Linked DNA regions of Homo sapiens: all the other regions are linked to region 3. The links are contacts of gene promoters, found by promoter capture Hi-C in human tissues and cell types (Jung and others, 2019). All regions are on one chromosome and are shown on one strand. The core of a region is centred on a gene start or on the middle of the fragment in contact, and the rest is flanking DNA. Distances in the headings are between cores, read along the strand shown.

What was found. Contacts are between HindIII fragments. The study calls those that stand out against the background at their distance.
Region 1: a contact is called between a fragment that was not itself captured here and the fragment with the promoter of METTL14 in region 3, in 1 of the 25 tissues and cell types used here (heart right ventricle).
Region 2: a fragment that was not itself captured here is called in contact with the fragment with the promoter of METTL14 in region 3 in 1 of the 25 tissues and cell types used here (hippocampus).
Region 4: a fragment that was not itself captured here is called in contact with the fragment with the promoter of METTL14 in region 3 in 2 of the 25 tissues and cell types used here (liver and mesendoderm cells).

The regions. Positions count from the first base shown.
Region 1 is chr4:118,531,336-118,534,035 of GRCh38, reverse strand. It overlaps the pseudogene CEP170P1. Among named protein-coding and RNA genes, the nearest start is that of METTL14-DT, 150 kb to the left of the region's middle. RefSeq lists enhancers at 1-456, 457-957, 2,199-2,698. The HindIII fragment of the contact is 5,936 bases long and covers 1-2,700 here.
Region 2 is chr4:118,548,729-118,551,428 of GRCh38, reverse strand. It overlaps the pseudogene CEP170P1. Among named protein-coding and RNA genes, the nearest start is that of METTL14-DT, 140 kb to the left of the region's middle. The HindIII fragment of the contact is 4,913 bases long and covers 1-2,700 here.
Region 3 is chr4:118,683,948-118,686,867 of GRCh38, reverse strand. It overlaps METTL14 (methyltransferase 14, N6-adenosine-methyltransferase non-catalytic subunit), which reads right to left and starts at 1,476. Exons shown (of 11, transcript NM_020961.4): 1 at 1,268-1,476. The coding sequence starts at 1,333. It overlaps METTL14-DT (METTL14 divergent transcript), which reads left to right and starts at 1,527. Exons shown (of 7, transcript NR_125930.1): 1 at 1,527-1,563; 2 at 2,401-2,460. RefSeq lists enhancers at 938-1,077, 1,258-1,517. The HindIII fragment of the contact is 10,452 bases long and covers 809-2,920 here.
Region 4 is chr4:118,812,511-118,815,296 of GRCh38, reverse strand. SEC24D (SEC24 homolog D, COPII component) reads left to right here. Exons shown (of 23, transcript NM_014822.4): 6 at 142-269. Among named protein-coding and RNA genes, the nearest start is that of SEC24D, 22 kb to the left of the region's middle. The HindIII fragment of the contact is 4,377 bases long and covers 1-2,786 here.

The sequences.
Region 1 (2,700 bases), core at 139-2,638, 150 kb after region 3:
TTTGCCCTATTTTTTAATAGCACAATTCATTTTCAAACGTTTTTACATGTAAAACTTTCCAGAGGATACACACATGAACCTCTGGAATTAAGTTTCCTTTGATATTACTGGAAAAAAGCAACGGTGGTGGGCTATTAATGAAGTATACTAGCTTTAGAATCCTAAAACCAAAGTTTATGACCGCAAGTCAAACATTTAACATTGGCTAAGAGATCATAACTGTAATGACTCAGCTTTCAAGAAATAATTTAGTGTAGTTTGTAAATGACCAGAAGTGTTAAAATGTAAAATGAGTTTAAGGAGAGACGTTTAAGGGTCATTCCAGAAAAGCTCATGGTTTCCACACTATCTAGAAGAGTTTAGTAAGCAAAAAAAGTTTTGTAAGAGGAAAGAGGGGATATCAAATGAAAGGTACTCAGGAAAACTGGAAAAAGAAAATATAAGGAAAAAAAGTCTAATGTCAATTATTCTAAGTGAAGTAATTCAGGAATGGAAAGTCAAACACCACACGTTCTCACTTGTAAGTGGGAGCTAAGCTGTGAGGATGCAAAGGTGTAAGAATGATATGAATTAGCTTTTAATCCTTGTATAAATTATGAACTCGTTTGGAACACAGGCTCTGTGTTTTAGGTTTATTTGCCTCCCCAATGGTGACAAATATGGTCAGCGATTCATAAAAAAGTATGATTTATAATAGGATGCACCAGGGAGACTTTTAATCTGAACAGAGGTCACGGTAATGAGATTCGGGAAGAAGAACGCAGAAGAGATTAGCGACCCCTCTCCTTCCCAATTCCTTCTAATGGTATAAAAGCCAGTCAGCCAAATAATGAAGAGCCACATTATTTTTAAAGAGTCAAGGATCTTGTATCAGGCCCCAAAATTGCAAAGGCAGGTATAAAGTAAAAATCCATAAGCATGTGGCTAAAAAATTTTTTTATTTCCATAGGTAAAAACAAATTTCGTTTAAGTATTTGGTTTAGCTTGTATTTGTCCTTCTAAGTGATTACTCACTCATGCTCTCCCCTGCACCTCAAATAGAACAAGTATAGTGGTTTAAGGTTTACAAGGCATGGGAAGAAAAAAAAAAAAACCCCAAGATATTAGCAAATTAACTTCACTTCATTTAAAATTCTCATTGCTTATACAATGTAGGAAAAAGTACACTTGTAAGAGACCCTATACTAGCACACAGAGGGAGTAAGAAGTCAAGTTAAAAAGTACACGAATGCAGGCACCAACTGGACTTATATAACAGGACATATAAGGTTTTTACTTTGTGCATGAGCAAAAAGTTCTGGATGTTCCCTAACCAGTAAAGACCAATTGTGAATCCCCCCTAACCAGTAAAGACCAATTGTGAATCCCCTATCTAGAGGCACTCCAGATGGAATGCTCAGTATCATTGGCTACGAAGCATGAATGCTTAGCAAGGTCAAATACATACTTGGAAATGCTATCTCCAAATAAAAGACAGTATTCTTATTACTACACTGCCTACAAATAAAAATACAGTATTTTTATTAGTATATAAAAAAGTACCCAGATGTGGCTTGAATGTGATAAGGCTATAATTTTAAAAAATGTACATGCCTTGTAAGTACTTGTAACTACATTTTCCCCTGAAGCCTTTTCCTGGTTTTGGCCCATTATTCAAGATTATTTTTCTCAGCTGTTAAAAGCAATGAACATAACCACATTTATGCTATTCTGCCACTTAACTAGATATCTTCTTTCTTTTTTATTAGACAGCACATAATTTTAATACAGCCTTTGGCTTGTTGTGAAGCCACATCTCTGTTCTTCTTGACATGCCTTTCATACAGATGTGTTACCACTGTAAACAGCTCAAGCAGATCTTAAGAAATTCACTTAAGGTTTCCTAGAAATGTGATTCACATGAGTTCTGTATCTTAAACCATGACTTTCAAAATGAGGTAAAATATTGTATAATGAAATCAACATATGCAGGTGTGAATATAAACAAGCAATACTGACTTCCATATATGGATCCTTGAAATGTTTCATTACTGGATGATTGTATCTTATACAGTGAATAATGCTATTATGATAAAACAGAAATACAATCTCTCACATCCTAATTTTTTTCCCAAAAAAAATAACTGTAGCTAGGTAAAAATGGGGCTAAGACAAGGAATTTCTACGTAAAAATTTTTAGAGTTTGACTTAAAAATTTTCAATTTGGAATCTTAAGCATTTAAACTATTCAGGGCCTACTGATAATGAGCTAGGTATCTTTTAAAAAACAAAAGAGGCTGGGCACAGTAGCTCACGCCTGTAATCTCAGCACTTTGGGAGGCTGAGGTAGGTGGATCACTTGAGGTCAGGAGTTCAAGAATAGTCTGGCCAACGTGGTGAAACCCTGTCTCTACTTTTACAAAAAATTAGCCAGGCATGGTGGCATGCGCCTGTAGTCCCAGCTACTCGGGAGGCTGAGGCAGGAGAATCCTTTGAACTTGGGAGGTGGAGGTTGCAGTGAGCCGAGATCATGCCACTATACTCCAGCCTGGGCAACAGAATGTGAGACTCTGTCTCAAAAAAAAAAAAAAAATCCAACAAAACAACAACAACAAAAAACAAAGGAGATATAGACAAATTTGGGAAGACTCCAGGCATCATTTATTCAACAAAGTTTATTTGGTATCAGTATCAGCTGGGCGCGGTGGCTCATGCCTGTAA
Region 2 (2,700 bases), core at 76-2,575, 140 kb after region 3:
TTTCTAATGTTTAATTATTACAAGAACAATCTACACTAGTAAGAAACACAAAAGGCTCCTCCTTCATACCCTCTGCAACTTTGAAACAATCAACATTTTAAACCTGTGAGTCAGTAGAAGAAATAAAATTTCCCAAAATTTTGCATTTATATCTTCTTTTGAAAAAGCAAATCAACGAACAGCTCAAAAATAAGGGTCTTTTCCTTAAAATAAAACCCTATTAAAATGTTTTAATCTTCAAGAAAAATTACTATACCATGCTCGAGGTTTTCACAATAGGGACTTCACTTTCGGCTCTTAATTTGCTTTCTATGTCATCCCAATTCCGATCTTTGTCTTTAAATAATATTCTATAAATCAAAAAACATAAGCATATAACTTTTTATATTTTAAAAACCTATTACTTTTTTGTTAATAATACCAAAGCAATGTATCTTTTCAAAGGTACACAAAGAAAAAAAACCAACCATTGCATAAACTGAGAATTAAAATACTAAGCCAACAGTACCAATTAATTCATGTGTATGAGCTCCAATTGAATGCTTATTAATACATGCATATATTCTTTACCGTTTATCTTATTCTTTATTGAAAACAAAATATAAAACAAATGTAAATGATGTTATGACCTCAAAACTTTAATATTTATAATTTACAATACAGTAATGCCCTCTTATCCACGGTTTCTCTTTCCATGGTTTTAGTTAGTGGCAGTCAAGCATGGTCCGAAACTATTACAGTATTTTGGGAGAGGGAGAGAGAGAGAGAGAGAGAGAAAAGACCACACTCACATAACTTTTTTTTACAGTATATTGTTACAAATGTTCTATTTTATTATTAGTTACTATTGTTAATCTCTTACTGTGCCTAATTTATAAATTAAACTTTATCATAGGCATGTATGTGTAGGAAAATACACAGTATATTAGGTTTTAGAACTATCTGTGGTGTCAGGCATCCAGTGGATATCTGGGAACAACATGTATCACCTGGGTATAAGGAGAAAAGACTGTGTAACTGTCACTTATAAAGAAAATGCAATTTTATTCAGACAGAATATATGCAGTATAGGAATAAGTGAGATGAAAATAGGTTGAATTAGGTATAAACAATTGTGTCTGTTAAGACCTCTTTATATAGGAATAAGCACCTTATCGATCAAGAAAAGTGTCTATATTATTTTAAAGACCAAAAATTGGGAGTACTTACTGTGCTTTTCTTTAACAATTGTTAATTCGTGTTAGTATACTTGCACATAATAACCTATTAGGAATTAGGATGCTATCCTTTTGATAAAAACAATTGCCAATAAAGATAATTATCCTATCATTACCCTAACATCAAATAACTTATAAAATAAAGGACCACAAAATTTTGACGTGTCTTTCAAATGTGGGACACTTTTCTAACACTTTAGAGTCTATCAGACATGATTCAGCAGTCTTAGAAAGATGTAAATACTAGCTACTTTTTTGGTTTCTTTTAAAATTTTTTCAGTAAGTCTGGAAATCTAGTTTAAACAACACTATATAACCTCATGTAAATGTATTACTACTGCAAGCTGATCAGCATTTAAGTAGTAAACTAAGTTAATATTTGTGCTGGTATTTCTTCAAAGATCAACATGCCAGACTTACCTTATTTAAAAACATGAAACTCATTAACATCACATCAAGTCTGGAACATTTGCTTAAGGTGGCAACGGGTCTAGAATCTGGTATAAGAATATTCTTATGGCCTACTTATTAAATTTTCTAAACTCAAAAAAATGAACACCCTTGCCAGCCATCTTTTCTAAATTATTATGTTCTTGTAAAAGAGTCCTTGCAGCATTAGGACTGATGGAAAATAAGGAAATAATGACTATTTCATGGACCAACTTAGAACTGTAATGGACTTATACAATAGAGAAAGACTCTGTTTAGCCACACAGTGCTAAAAATTCAGTGAATTTTTCCAGAGGATGGCTACTGAGTATAGTGTTTGTGGATCTAAAACTGTTAGACCATAGACATTTCACCTTTGGTGAAAATGGGTTTTTCACGGGTTGCCCCTGAAAAAAAAATGCCCCCCTGAAGAAATAAATGGTTTATTTTAAAATACAGTTTGTTGGCCAGGCACAATGGCTCATGCCTGTAATCCTAGCACTTTAGGAAGCCAAGGTGGGTGGATCACTTGATTCCAGGAGATCGAGACCAGCCTGGGCAACATGGCGAGACCTCGTCTCTATAAAAAATACAAAAAAATTAGCCAGGTGTGGTGCAGATGCCTGTAGTCCTAGCTACTAAGAAGGCTGAGGTGGGAGGATTGCTTGTGCCCAGGGAGATCGAGGCTGCACTGAGTGAGTGAGTTGTGAACATGCCACTGCACTCCAGCCCATCTCAAAAACAAAAAACAAAAAACAAAAAACAATTTGTAATATGTAATAGAACAGATCTAAGAAGTCAAACTTGTCATTTTGGCATTATGAAATAAACTTTACTGTAATATTTACTATAATATTTAATATTTAAATACTAGAGAATCAGAAAATCAGACCAAGAAATTAGTTTAGACCAGGCTATAATGATCAGAACTTGTTTTTGTTTGAAGGTCCTTATCAATTTTAAGCTGAAAAAATCATAGCTTTCAAAGTGATATTCAGATTATATTATAGATTCAAAATAAGCTAAACTTCAGCATGAAAATACATAAAATTCC
Region 3 (2,920 bases), core at 227-2,726:
TGCAACCAATTCATAAAAGACTTTAAAAGGTAGAGCCCCTGGCATCTGCTGAGTGTAAAACACTAAACAAATAATTGTCCTATGAATGTATATTGAGTCAAATAGAAGTTTGAATTCAATATTAAGGAGTAAAACGTCTTCTGTGGTAGCAACAAAGAGCTACTTAACATTTTTGAAGATAATACGATAAAAGAAGTTGGCGAAAAGAAGACTTAGAAAGGATACTTGATTTGCCCAAGATCGTAATGCCAGCGGGATAAGGAACAAAGGAACAAATCTGACTCCAAGTTTCCACGGTTTTAGCCATATTCCACAAATCTGTTCATCAGACCATAAAGAGGATAGGTTTCAGAAGTCCATTTACTAAAACCAAGTTTCATTACTGAAAAATAACTGCAAGATGACTAATTACACTCTATGAGCATTGCTCCTATCACTTTTACTGATCTGAATAGTAGAATGGAAAATACAGCCTCGATTTTAAGTAGAACTGTGCACAATCTGTATTTTCTGCATGTGCACTCTACTAATCAGCAAATGTTAACTTACTCATACACAAGAAAGAAGTGAAGGACAATGGTTTAGAAGACAAGCTTTGGGGAGACAAACCTAGGTTCTATTTCCCAGCAGAGAAGTGAGCGACCAGGAGTAAAATTCCTTAACGTATGGAGCCTTTTTCATTACTTGATAAGTGAAGGTAATAATACCTGTTTCAGGAGATTATTGTGACTAACACAGAGTAAGATTTCAAATATTAACTGTGGATGTGACAAGGATACTCTATATAAGATGCAGAATCTAAAATTTACACTCAGGCTACTTCCAGTGTTGTCTTCAGAAAGATGTCAAAGAAAATACTGTAAACGTATTTCATAATGAAACCACAATCTCAAGAATTTGGGGCTGACGACGAAGAAAAGAAAGAAATAGATGACCATTTAATAGTGAAGAGAAATGTAGGGGATAACATGACACTCATCCTGGCGTGAACATGCCAGACACTCGGTGGGAGTTCCACAAAGCTTAAAGGCTAATCCTGGCATTCGGTTTAGCACCACAAAGACCGCGGAAGGAACTGGAAAAACATTCGGGACACCGCGAAAATTGAGAACTACAAAGGCAGAACCAGGGATCAAGATCGCAGGACCAGAAAGGCCTTAACAGCGGCAGGTAGAGAAGGGACAGAAAAAGGCGGGGTGTGGAGGGAGGAGGCGGCCGCGCACTCGCATTCTCGATCCCTCCCACAGGGGACACCAGGGCCGCGGACCTGCTGCGCGAGGAGCTGTCGCCGTAACTTCTGCCGCTCCCGGATCTCCTGCAAGCGGCTATCCATGTTCCAACTCCGGCTTTTCACTATCCCGAGTACTTGTCAATCTCCAGTGAACTCTTATCCAACCTTTCTTCCGAGTCTGTGGAACAAAATTCACCGGGAGCTTACGAACAGAGTATCCTCATAGCTTTCCTCAGTAGAGACTTCCGGCGCGGCCGGAATTGGCTCGCTTGGCCCGGAAGTCCCGCCTCCTTCTGGACGCTTGCTATGTGACGCCACTTGGAAGGGACCCAGTAAGGGATCTGTTGCGCCACAGGGGTCTCCAGGGCCCTCGCAGGTTGGGGTGGTCTGAGCTAGTCTGAAGGAGGACAGTCAGCTGACTTCTCCTTTATCTCTCTTTCCCAGGATAGCAGGTTCCCTTGGTGTATTACAGTTTCTGAAGTGTTGATTCCCTTTTCAATTGATTCCACAGATGACAGTCCTGACGTTTAAAAAATTGCCAGATAACCTTTAATTTTTTTTTTTTTAACAGAACACAAACTTAAGCCAGATTGCCTAGGATTGAACCTTGGCCTCTCACTTCCTAGACGAGTGGCCTTGGCTAGTTAACCACCTTCGTGAGCCTCAGTTTTGTCATCTGTAAAATGGGAGTCATAAGTGTCTACCTCACAGAGCTGTGATTGAAAGGATAAATAGCACCTTGCACATAGCGGTGTAGAAGTGCTTGTTATTGTTAATATTTTATTTACCTTCACGCAGGTAACAGCCACAACATCTGCCCACTCTTCCCCACACCTTACTGTCCCTTGAAATGTTTCCCATTTTACTATAGTATGCATTTTTTGGCTTCTTCCCTTTAGGGAAATGAGTATGTGATAGTAAAGCGTGTCTTGGTTTATGTCCTAGGAGTCAGAAGCTAAGAGACTCCTTTTTGTGCTTGTACATTTGTCTTAACTGAAAATAACCCAAGGATAAGGAAACAAATAGCTTCCTGAAATTACTCGGATTGCGGGGGTGAGGGGTGAGGGCTGGGGGGTGGTGATTCTGTCTTCATAGGATGGCAGCAAAGGCCAAAGTCTTATTTGAGTTATTACCATTATTATTCACCACACTTGCCATCTTATTTCAAGCCTACAGTGGCGGAAGTGGAGTAAGACATCATGTTGCCTCAAGTTTAATTGGAAATCGCGGTAAGTACTTAACAAAATTAGTAATAAGTCTGTTCTTTCAGAGTAGATTTAATTTTCAGAAATAATATTAAGTCATCCAGATCAAAACCAGTTGAGTCAGGCTGGGCCAAAAGTGGGCAAGACTAGATTCTACTTAGTCATGCCCACTTTTATAGAAATAATTATAATGTATTTCCGAAGAACTAGGTCTGAAAGACAATTTTGAACAAGTAGTCCTAAACAATTCCTTGAGTAATGTCAGCACTACTTGGATACTGTAAAATATTTATGTCCATATGAGTTAAAGTGTATTTCTTTAAAAATCAGTTGTATTATCTGGCAATCATTTAAGTTGAATACTGATTTAAATTTTACCAATGGTGAGAATAGGCAATTATTCACTTAAATATCTGTTGATATTGATTGAGCATTTTATATGGCAAGCACTGTGATAGGCCCTAGAGTCTATAAAGTCTGTCAA
Region 4 (2,786 bases), core at 203-2,702, 130 kb before region 3:
CCACACTCATACTTGACTCCTTGCTTTTTTTAATAAGATGAAAAATACAACATGCTTGACTGAACAGCATAATATCGTCAACAAGTCTTACATGCTGGATTTGGGATGATAGTCATTTCTCTTTAAATTTTTTCCAAGCAGCCAACTCTGGTCCCCAGATGGCAGGCGCACAACTGTCTTACCCAGGAGGCTTCCCTGGAGGTCCTGCACAGATGGCTGGTCCGCCACAGCCCCAGAAGAAGCTGGATCCTGACTCTATCCCTAGCCCAGTAAGTACTCTTCTCACTCTCACAGTCTCACTCACAAAGGAGCATTAATTTTTCTCAGCAACTCATCAGTTTGTTAGCATTTATCCTGTTCATTAGCATAGAAGTTAGGAGATACTCATCACATAGAGGGAAGGCTTCCTTCCTTATATGCATGTATGGGGGAAAGCATGCTAGGGTTATGGGCATACTAAAGGTCTCCATGAAAGAGCAGCCTGTGCTGATTTTTTTTTTCTTTTTTTTTGGTGTCATATAAACTTGGCAGTGTCTACAATGTTTACATTGACATATTTTGGCAGTATCGCTATCTAATGAGTAATTAACAGACTATATCCTATAGAAATATGCTATTTTAGATAACTAAAGGATCCTTTTCAATAAGAGAAACCCATAGAGACTGAAAGTATATTTTACATCTTGCACAATAAAAAAACAAATTTTTTTTAATGTAAAGTTAGAACTAAACTCTTCACTCAAGTGATTTCTTTGGAGGGTTACTCTTTAATAATTTTATCAGTCAAGCTTTGCAAGGCCATTCTGCATAGCAAACAATCCCCAACTTTGCTTACAACTGCAAAGATGTATTTATCACTCAGTTTACATGTAGGCTGTGGCAGCTGCAGATTGGATTTAGGCTCTGCTTCATCCGTCCTTATCATTCCAAAATCCAGCGTGAAGAGGCAAACACTACTGAGGACATGCTATTTTGTGGCATAGGGAGGAAACAGAGCTGGCCAAAATGTGCAACAGCTCTTAAAGCTTCCACTCATGTGTGGCATGTGTCATAACCACTCATGTGCCCTTGGCTGAAGCAAGTCATAAAACAAAGCCCAATGTCACTGAGACAGGGAAGCTGCCAATCTTATGGCATTGGGATGTAAAATCCTTTTGGAATAATAACGAAATTGGCTACAGTTTATTTTGTGTCTTTGAATAGGTTCGATAAACATAAGTACTTGAAGAATTAGAAATAAAGGAGCAGGAAAAGCTACCATATTAGCTAACTTATGCTGTGTAACCAACTGCTACAAAACAGTAGCTTAGCACTACTGTTTATTAATACTCATGACCCAGTGGGTTCCCGGTTTTTCTAATCTGGGCCAGGTTCATCTGATTTTGGCTGAGCTTGCTCATGCATCTGGGGTCAGCTGGAGGCTTGGCTAGAGTGTGGATGGTTTAGGATAATGTATTAGTTTCCTGTGGCTGCTGTAACAAATTACCACAAATCAGGTGACTAAAAACAACAGAAATGTATTCTCTCACAGTTCTGGGGACCAAAAGTCCAAAATCAATATGTTGGCAAGTGCTGTGGTTTGAACATTTGTCTTCTCCAAAACTCATGTTGAAACTTAATCTCCAGTGTGGCAGTGTTGAGAGATGATTGGGTCGTAAGGGCTCTGCCCTTGTGAATGGATTAATCCGTTCATGGATTAGTGGGTTAATGGATTAATAGGTTATCATGGGAGTGGAACTGGTGGCCTTATAAGAAGAAGAAAAGAGACCTGAGCTAGCACGCTCAGCCCCTTTGCCATGTCATGCTCTGTGCCGCTTTGGGATTCTGCAGAGTCTCCACCAGAAGAAGGCTGTCACCACATGTGGCCCCTCAACCTGGGACGTCTTAGCCTCCATAGCTATAAGAAATAAATGTCTTTTCTTTATAAATTACTGTTTCAGGTGTTATAAGCAATGAAAAACGGACTAAGCAGGGCTGTGCTGCCCCTGAAGGCTGTAGAGGAGAATCTGTTCCTAGGCTCTTTCAGCTTCTGGTGGCTCCAGGTCTTCCTTGGCTTGTGACCATGTGACTCCAGTCTCTGCTTCTGTGGTCACATTGAGTCCTCCTTCTCTTTGTGTCTTCTTCTCTGGGTGTCTGTCTCAAAATTCCTCTGCCTCTTTCTTATACATGTGATTCCATTCAGGGCCAGGATAAGCTCCTCCTCTGAAGATCCTTAACTTAATAAAATTATTTTGCCATATGAGGTAATGAAATGGAAAAGGTTCCCTCGTGCCCCTTGGAGGGCATGCAGTGGGGGTGTGGCTCGCTTCTTCAGTGCTCCAAAGCTCAAATCTCTAGGGGAGGATACAGATGGGCAGGCTGTGGGGCTCCGACTCCCATGGCAGTGTCTAGGGGTGAATGTTTACAGCTGAAGTCCCAGTGGGCGTGTGTTACAGGGTGCTCTTTTAGTTTGCCGTCTATAGGTGACTTGTATTAACCAGCTCAATTAGACCCCTTCCTTATCACAAGGACAGAGGGATTTCTGTATCCCAGGTTTTTGCCTTGCTGTACTGGAAGAATTGGATCACACATGGGCTTGGAGAATGAGTGCAAGGTTTTATTGAGTAGAAGTAGCTCTCAGCAGGTGGGGGAGCCAGAGGGAGATGATTTTCCTCTGGAGTCCCACCACTCAGTGGCCCTGGGTCTCCGACTGCCCCGGCCAAACTCCGCCTCTTCCCATGTCTGTCAGTGTGCTCTTCCACTGGCATTCTCCCTCCACGTCCTCTCGCTGTCCAGCTGCTTGTATC